3 separate regions of the Homo sapiens genome follow, and regions 1 and 2 are each linked to region 3. The links are contacts of gene promoters, found by promoter capture Hi-C in human tissues and cell types (Jung and others, 2019). All regions are on one chromosome and are shown on one strand. Each heading gives the region's core, a stretch centred on a gene start or on the middle of the fragment in contact. The rest is flanking DNA. Distances are from core to core; before and after follow the strand shown.

The links. Contacts are between HindIII fragments. The study calls those that stand out against the background at their distance.
Region 1: a fragment that was not itself captured here is called in contact with the fragment with the promoter of KDM3B in region 3 in 1 of the 25 tissues and cell types used here (adrenal gland).
Region 2: a fragment that was not itself captured here is called in contact with the fragment with the promoter of KDM3B in region 3 in 1 of the 25 tissues and cell types used here (hippocampus).

What each region holds. Positions count from the first base shown.
Region 1 is chr5:138,488,118-138,490,817 of GRCh38, forward strand. No RefSeq gene overlaps it. Among named protein-coding and RNA genes, the nearest start is that of EGR1, 24 kb to the left of the region's middle. The HindIII fragment of the contact is 5,676 bases long and covers 1-2,700 here.
Region 2 is chr5:138,146,040-138,148,739 of GRCh38, forward strand. The region is part of intron 23 of BRD8 (bromodomain containing 8); the gene reads right to left. Among named protein-coding and RNA genes, the nearest start is that of NME5, 8.0 kb to the left of the region's middle. The HindIII fragment of the contact is 5,043 bases long and covers 1-2,700 here.
Region 3 is chr5:138,351,362-138,354,067 of GRCh38, forward strand. It overlaps KDM3B (lysine demethylase 3B), which reads left to right and starts at 1,324. Exons shown (of 24, transcript NM_016604.4): 1 at 1,324-1,626. The coding sequence starts at 1,435. RefSeq lists silencers at 1,024-1,103, 1,124-1,363, 1,444-1,913 and an enhancer at 2,164-2,263. The HindIII fragment of the contact is 4,490 bases long and covers 1-2,706 here.

The DNA.
Region 1 (2,700 bases), core at 110-2,609, 140 kb after region 3:
CCCAGAGACAGAGATTGCAGTGAGCCGAGATCACACCACTGCACTCCAGCCTGGCGTGGTGGCACGTGCCTGTATTCCCAGCTACTCAGGAGGCTAAGGCAGAAAAATCACTTGAACCTGGGAGGCGGAGGTTGCAGTGAGTGAAGATGGTACCACTGCACTCCAGCCTGGGCAACAGAGCAAGACGTGGTCTCAAACAAACAAACAAACAAACAAAAAACTGCTGGGCTCTCCAGCCTCTTCTCCAAGAAGCACCTCCTTGGGTCTTCAGGAGATCTCCCGAGGCTGTTCAATGGAGACATCTTGGTCTCTTAGGAAAATTTCAAGGCTTGGGAAGGGTAGTGGAGACCTCTCAAGTCTCCTGCTTCTGGAGTCCGGGTTGGGAGAGAGAGTCCAGTTGACAGCCAGAGTCCCAAGACACAGGGCCCCGTATCACCCATGCCTATCTGTCCACGCCCCATACATGCTCTGGTGGCAAGTGTGAACAAACAAAGTGAACAGCAGCCAAGTTTTAATCTGTGTGTGGAGCACTAGGGAAATGTAGGTGTGGGCAGATTTTTGTGGTCTCAGCCTATCTGAGCAGGAGCCCTAGGGGCGGTGAAGAAGCCTTGGTGAGTCAGGAGACAGCAGGGCAAAAAGGACAAGCACACGTGCTCTGGAGTCACACAGACCCAAATTCTGAGCCCTTGGTCTGCCATTTACATACTTCATGATCACAGGCAAGTTCCCTACTTCTCTGAACCTCAGTTTTCACCTGTAGAAAATGGGAGTAATTCTCATTCTAGTAGGTGTTAAAAAAAATAAGAAATTTAAAATAATTAAAGTTTTAAAAAAAAGCAAAATAAAATGGCCATAATGGTTTCATCTCATTGGTTTATGCGGGTTAAATGAGGCAATGTCTACAGAGTGCTGGGCTGGCTCTCTTTTTTTAAGAGATAGAGTCTCACTCTGTCACCCAGGCTGGAGTGCAGTGGCGCAATCTCGGCTCACCGAAGCCTCGACCTCCCAGGCTCAAGCAATCCTCCCCTACTTCAGCCTCCTGAGTAGCTGGGACTATAGGCAGGCACTACCACGCCTGGCTAATTTTTGTATTTTTGGTAGCGAGGGGGTCTCGCCATGTTGCCCAAGCTGGCCAAATCTCTCATAAATTGGGAGTTGTTACTGAGGAGTCCATATGCCTCAATTTCCTTATCTCTAAAACAGAGATAACAGTAGGATTACCTGAGGGGGGATTAAATGAGATAATAAATGAAGAGTGGTTGACACACTGTGGGTAAATGTTAACTATTAACACTATCAACACCTTCCCTGTTTTGCTCAAGGTCAAAACCCGATAGTTCCCTCCTCTTCTTGCTTTCTCCCTGACCCTGTTCCATTTGCCAGGAAATGACCCTTCTTATCTTTTTGGACAGAAGAATGCACTCAGAAGAGAGCACGTGGGAGAGCAGGAGGAGATCCAGGGGTCTCTGTCCTTGCTGAGACCTGCGTCTCCCCTCCCACCGCACTCAGACCCAGGGCTTTCCACGAGCATCTCTCTTGGACAAAGCTCTGCCCAAGGGTTCATTTTAGAGACTTCTGTAACTCAAGAGGATCAGTATTAATCTTCCCCACCTACAAGATGAGTGGCAGCCCAAAGCCAAGTGCTTCCCAGCCAGGGAGAGAAAGACATGGAAGTTCCCTTCTTTTCTGTGTCTCTCCCCGCCTCCTTTTTGCGGGGGAGCTGAATGTGCTCCTCTGGAGGGACTGAGGGAAGCCAGGGCTGGCTCAAAAGTGATTTTGCCTAGATGAAGCTGGCAGCTGGGAACCACTTTCCCTCCGCTTGCCCTCTGCCGGGGAAACTCCATGACGGAGACAAGGCAGCTGGCAGGGAGAAGCCTCTGGATTGGGGCTGCTGGGGCTGCTGCAGTGCCAGGCAGGGCCACACAGGAACACATGGGCCCAGAGGCAGATGCTGATGCCACCTTTCCTTGCTGAGGACTCCCTAGAAAGGCAGTGCCTTGGAGCCTGCGGGGAAGACTATCTTTACCTGTAGCACAGAAGCAAATATAAAGGAACACAGAACTAGTGGAAAAGGTACGGGGTTGGGCTCTGAAGAATGGGGTCCCAGCCCTGGTGCTGCCACTCCACGGCCGTGTGATTTTTGGTCAAGGTGCTTAAGATCTTTCCCCAAATTCTAGTTTCCCTATTTGCAAAATGAATGTTGTAATACGTCCCTCATAGGAACTGTGCAGAGAATTAGTTGAAATGATGTATGGGAAGCTGGGACACGGGAGATGGCTAATAAATATTCATTTATTCCACAGAGGAATCGAAGAGAAAGGAAATCGCTGGATTTTGGAGGCTTTATGATTTATCAGCTTATTCTATGGAATTAAGCCCTGGGCATCATGCTATTTGTCAGGGGCCTGGTTCTAGCGAAGATATGTGTTTATCTTTCACTATGAGATCCCAAGAGTCTCCCGAAATATTCTGGGCCTCAGAACTGGTTTCTCTGGGTGGCAGAGTATCAGAACACAGGGCAGAAGGAACCTGTTCCTCAGAGATCCAATCGACATCTCCCTTAAGCCTTTTGCTGCCCTCCACGAACCCATCCTTTTGTGCTGCCAGCTCCATGTCCCCATTCCGGGGGAGGCCAGAATGACACATCTACATGTCACCCCGTAGTCTACAATGTCGGGAAGGAGCTGTGTCCCTGCTGGA
Region 2 (2,700 bases), core at 94-2,593, 210 kb before region 3:
TTGTTTTCTCTTTTAATTTTTTAATTTTATTTTTCTGAGACAGAGTCTTGCTCTGTTGCCCAGGCTGGAGTGCAGTGGCATGATCTCAGCTCACTGCAACCTCTGCCTCCCGGGTTCCAGCGATTCTCCTGCCTCAGCCTCCCAAGTAGCTGGGACTAAAGTTGCATACCACCACACCCAACTAATTTTTGTATTTTCCATAGAGACGGGGTTTTGCCATGTTGGCCAGGCTGGTCTCAAACTCCTGGCCTTAAGTGATCCACCCGCCTCAGCCTCCCAAAGTGCTGGGATTACAGGCATGAACCACCATGCCCAGCCAATTTTTTTTTTTTTTGAGACAGGGTCTTGCTCTGTTGCCCAGGCTGGAGTGCAGTAGTGTGATCGTGGCTTACTGCAGCCTCAACCTGCTGGGCTCAAGCGATCCTCCTGCCTCAGCCTCCCAAGTAGCTGGGACTCCAGGCACATGCCACCACGCCCTGCAGCTAATTTCTGTATTTGTTGTAGAGACAAGGTCCCACTACGTTGCCCAGGCTGGATATCTACTGCTTTCTAATAAAGATTTCATATTTAATCTAAATTGTAAGGTAAGAATGTGGAATTTACCATCCAAGACTATGAACTGTCATGAGATAAGATGTCTCAGATTGGGCCCGGTGTGGTGGCTCACGCCTGTAATCCCAGCACTTTGGGAGGCCGAGGCAGGCGGATCACAAGGTCAGGAGATTGAGACCATCCTGGCTAACACGGTGAAACCCCGTTTCTACTAAAAATACACAAAAAATTAGCTGGGCGTGGTGGCGGGTGCCTGTAGTCCCAGCTACTTGGGAGGCTGAGGCAGGAGAATGGTGTGAACCTAGGAGGCAGAGCTTGCAGTGAGCCGAGATCACGCCACTGCACTGCAGCCTGGGCGACCGAGCGAAACTCCGTCTCAAAAAAAAAAAAAAAAAAAAAAAGTCTCAGATTGCAGATTTCCTGCTGTTTGTACAGTCACAGTATGTCATCTCTGCACTCTATTGCTCATACTTAAGGAGTTAAAGAAAAGCAAATGAAGGCATTCCTCACCAATCTACATTTTAAACTGTATCCTATTTGTGTACCAAAAATTGAAATCTAGGCTGGGCACAGTGGCTCAGGCTTATAATCCCAGTACTTTGGGAGGCTGAGGTGGGATTGCTTGAAGCCAGGAGTTCAAGACCCAGCTTGGGCAACAAAGCAAGACCCTGTCTCTATGAGAAAAAAAAGAAATCTGCTCTTCAAAAAATATATATATATATATATTCATATATAAATATATGCATGGTTCAGCTGTATATCTTAAACAAAAAAACACTAGAATAATTATTAGTTTTACCTTTCCACAGACAACTGGGTGGATCTGGGATATACTGAAGAAAAAAAAAACAGTTCATACTATATTCTCTCAACAGATGGATCTGACACAGGCTGGAAAAAGAACAATTTATTTATTACCATAACAAAAATAACTTTGCTGGACGTAGTGGCTCATGCCTATAATCTCAGCACTTTGAAAGGCTGAGGCAGGAGAATCACTTGAGGCCAGGAGTCACAGATAAAAACAACTTTGTTTTTCTGCTTTAAAAAGTAATTCACTTCATGCCAGATGCAGTAGTTCATGCCTATAATCCCAGGACTTTGGGAGGCCAAGGCAGGGGATCGCTTGAGTCCAGGAGTTTGAGACCAGTCTGGTCAATGTGATGAAACCCTGTCTCTAACAAAAATACAAAAAAATCAGCTGGTTGTGGTGGTGCACATCTGTGTTCCCAGCTATTCATGAGGCTGAGGTGAGAGGATCACCTGAGCCCAGGAGGCGGAGGCTGAAGTGAGCCAAGATCATGCCATTGCACTCTAACTTGGGCAACAGAGTGAGATCCTATCTCAAAAAAAAAAATTAATATTTTTTTGGTTTCCTGTTAAAAAAAAACAGCCCCCATTAAGATTTGAAAATGTGTTATTTAGTCCTATAATTATCTATACAAAGATGAGACAATTGCATAAACCAGGGGTGTCCAATCTTTTGGCTTCCCTGGGCCACACTGGAGGAAGAAGAAGAATTGTCTTGGACCACACATAAAATACACTAACAATAGCTGATGAGCTGGAAAAAAAAAAAAAAAAAGAAAAAAAAAAGGGAAAAAAAAAGGGTCAGTGCATAAATCTCATAATGTTTTAAGAATTTGTGTTTGGCCACATTCAAAGCTGTCCTGGGCTGCAGGCTAGGGATTAGACAAGCTTGACATAAACAATCCCCTAAGAGATGTGAAAAAGAAACAAAGATCACAAACTTCAAAATAATTTTTTTCTTCTCTTTTATTTCTTGTTTTGTTTTCTGAGACAGGGTCTTGCTCTGTCACCCAGGCTGTGTAGTGACATGATCATAGCTCACTGTAACCTTCACCTCCCAAGTTCAAGCAGTCCTCCTGCCTTGGCCTCCTGTGTAGCTAGGACTACAGGTGCATGCCCCCACACCCAATAAATTTTGTTTATTTTTTGTAAAGATGAGGTTTCACTATATTGCCCAGGCTAGTCTCAAAATCCTGAGCTCAAGCAATCCTCCTGCCTCTGCCTCCCAAAGTGCTGAGATTACAGGTGTGAGCCACTGCGCCTGGCCTAATTTTTTCTTTAAAAAAAAATTTTTTTATCCTCTTCCTTGTCTCCATCAAAATAATTTTCCATTTCAAG
Region 3 (2,706 bases), core at 74-2,573:
TCCTTGGTGCTCCACAGGGTTGGTTCTAGAATGATTTTCCTATATGTTTTATACTTTAGTAAAAGTATAAAGTCAATAGTTGGTTACCCCTCTCCCCAAGCCTTTGTTACAAGAAAAGTAGGTCAAGGGTGTAGACAAGGTTATGGACAGGAGATAGCTGGGGTAGGCACAGAAGCCTTGGAGAAAGAACCAGCTACCACTATTTCCTGTCTGTAGGGAAAATCAAAAAGTCACTTTTAGAACAACAGTCATGGGTTATTACTATACCCTTTATCTTTTGTATCCATTTTGTGTATACTCAGTCTCTGCATCCATGAGACCATGGAATGTGCTAGTCCCTGATATTGCCAGCTTTAAATGATTGAGGCAATTTCCTGTTGCTTATTGTGGGTAACAATCTAGCCAAAAATCTCAGCATCTCACTTTCTCTGCAGGCTCCTTTTCTAATCAGGAGCTATCAGTCTCCCACACCTGTATTAAATGCATTCAGATAAGAGTTACAGAATTTTCTTTGCCCCCAGCCCCACTAATTCCATGGTAAGATGGAGTGCTACTAAGAGAACCCCTTTACTGTTGGTCTATTTCCAGTTCCCCTAAGAGTTGAATGGAGAAACACGTAGACTTAATAACATTGGCAGACTAGGAAGGGGAAGAAGTTAGGTCGGTTTTAGGAAAAACACCAAGATGTTGGGGGGCACGTTGGCCTTCAGTCAGTGGAAAGAGTGGCATTATACATCCAATGGAAGTAATACATTGGCCAATTGGAAAGGAACCTAAGAAGTGCTGGCAGTATAGAATGGGATGGTGCTGTTATGGGCCATTGAGAAGGAAGACATTGTGTCTCATGGACCAATGGGGAGAACATTTCCTACAAGACAGCAGGTAGGAGCTCATATTTTCAGGATAGGAAATCAATGGGGGTATTGGAGACACTAAATAGCTCAAAACATCCACTCTCTAGGTACCTTGCCCCTCACCCCCTTACCCCGTAAATGTCTTTGGTATCCGAGGAGAGCAAGCTAAAGCCCTCTCATATATACGACTCCCTGAAGGAAGATTGAGACCAGGGATGATGCCATGGGGAAGCTGAAGGACCCGCCCACTTCCCTACCCCGGCCGGACCTGCAATTCCCCTCCAGACCGCAGGGGGCACTGCAGGCCCCGGGGAGATTGGGGCGGAGCGCTGCGAGGGGCCAGGAGCTGTCGCCCCGCTCCAGAGCGCGGGGGGCGCTGTGCGGGGCCCAGGCTGCGGCTCCGCTCCCGGCCACGGGGGGCGCTGCGCTGCGCCGGTGGTTGGTGGTGGCTGTTGGGGGGGGTGGGGGGGAACGGCGGCCGCGGGTGGTGCGGAGGGAGGCCTTGCGGGCGGATCGGGCGCTTGGCGGCGGAGGTGGTGGGAGGCGGCGGGCGGGAGCGCGGGTCAGGCCGGCCCCGGCGATGGCGGACGCGGCGGCCTCCCCGGTGGGCAAGCGGCTGCTGCTGCTGTTCGCGGACACTGCGGCCTCAGCCTCGGCCTCGGCTCCCGCGGCGGCAGCGGCGAGCGGAGATCCGGGGCCTGCGCTGCGCACTCGAGCCTGGCGGGCCGGCACGGTGCGGGCCATGAGCGGGGCGGTGCCCCAGGACCTAGCGGTGAGTGGCGGCCGAGTCGGGCACTCGAGGCCGGGGCTGCGGGGCCTGCGGGCGGCCTCCCCGGGGGCCTTTGTGAGGGGGCGGTGGGATGGGGGTGACCCATTTCCGTGCCCCCGGGTCTCCTTAGCGCCCCCCGCCGGCACCTCCGCACCCCGAGCGCTTGCCGGCATGGCTTCCGCGTCGGGGTGTGCGCCCCGGTTTCCCCCGGGGGGCGGCCAGGGCGTCCGGAGCTGCTGCTTGCAGCCAGCAGGCCCCGCCTCCTGGGCGACCCTTTTCTCGGCGTTCCCCCCAACACGCCTTCGGAGCAGGCTCTCGAATCTTGAGCTCCCGGGAGCCTCAGAGTTCGGCCAGTGTTGCCGCTGCCCTCTCGAAGACGCGGACCTGTGGTCCCCAGCCTCTCCCAGGAGACCTGCGCCCTGTTCCTTTTCTCCCAGAGCCCCAAGTGGGGCGGGAATGTGGGCAGTTATGGGAGGCACGGAGGCTGCAGTTGGAGCTGGTCGGGGCTTTTTTATCTGGCAGTTACTTCCTCATCTGAGCTGGGCTCGGCCTGGCGGTCTCCAGAAAGGCCAGCTCTCGGCACTGTCTCGAGCTCTCCTCTCCTTTCCTTAACGCTTCTGGGTGACAGGAGCTGCAGTTGTGGCTGTTTTTGTTAAGTTTGAGATCTTTCTTAGTGGCCGAACGGGGCTGCTGGGTAGTGCTTTTTGCTCCCAGCTCAGCTACTCCCCCAACCTTGGGAGAGGTTTTGTTTTGAAACTTTGTGTTTGGGCTTGGCCCTTTTTGAATGCCTTGGTGTGTTTTGTGATTAAAGTTGTTCAGTCATACAACTTAACTAGCATTCGGGATCATGATGTGTTATTCTCGTTAATGTGGCGGTAAAATATAGTGTTTGAGTTTTGGCAAGCCACTTTATTTCCTCATTTTGATAGGGGCCCTAGCTTCTCTGGTGAGATAAGGCTATGAAAAATGGTGTGTGTGCGTGTTGGGGCAGGGGGTGGTCTTTTGGAATGTAATAGATCAGCAAGCAGAAAGTAAATTTTCTTGATGAACTTGCTTTTGCAGATATAAACGGGAACGCAGTTT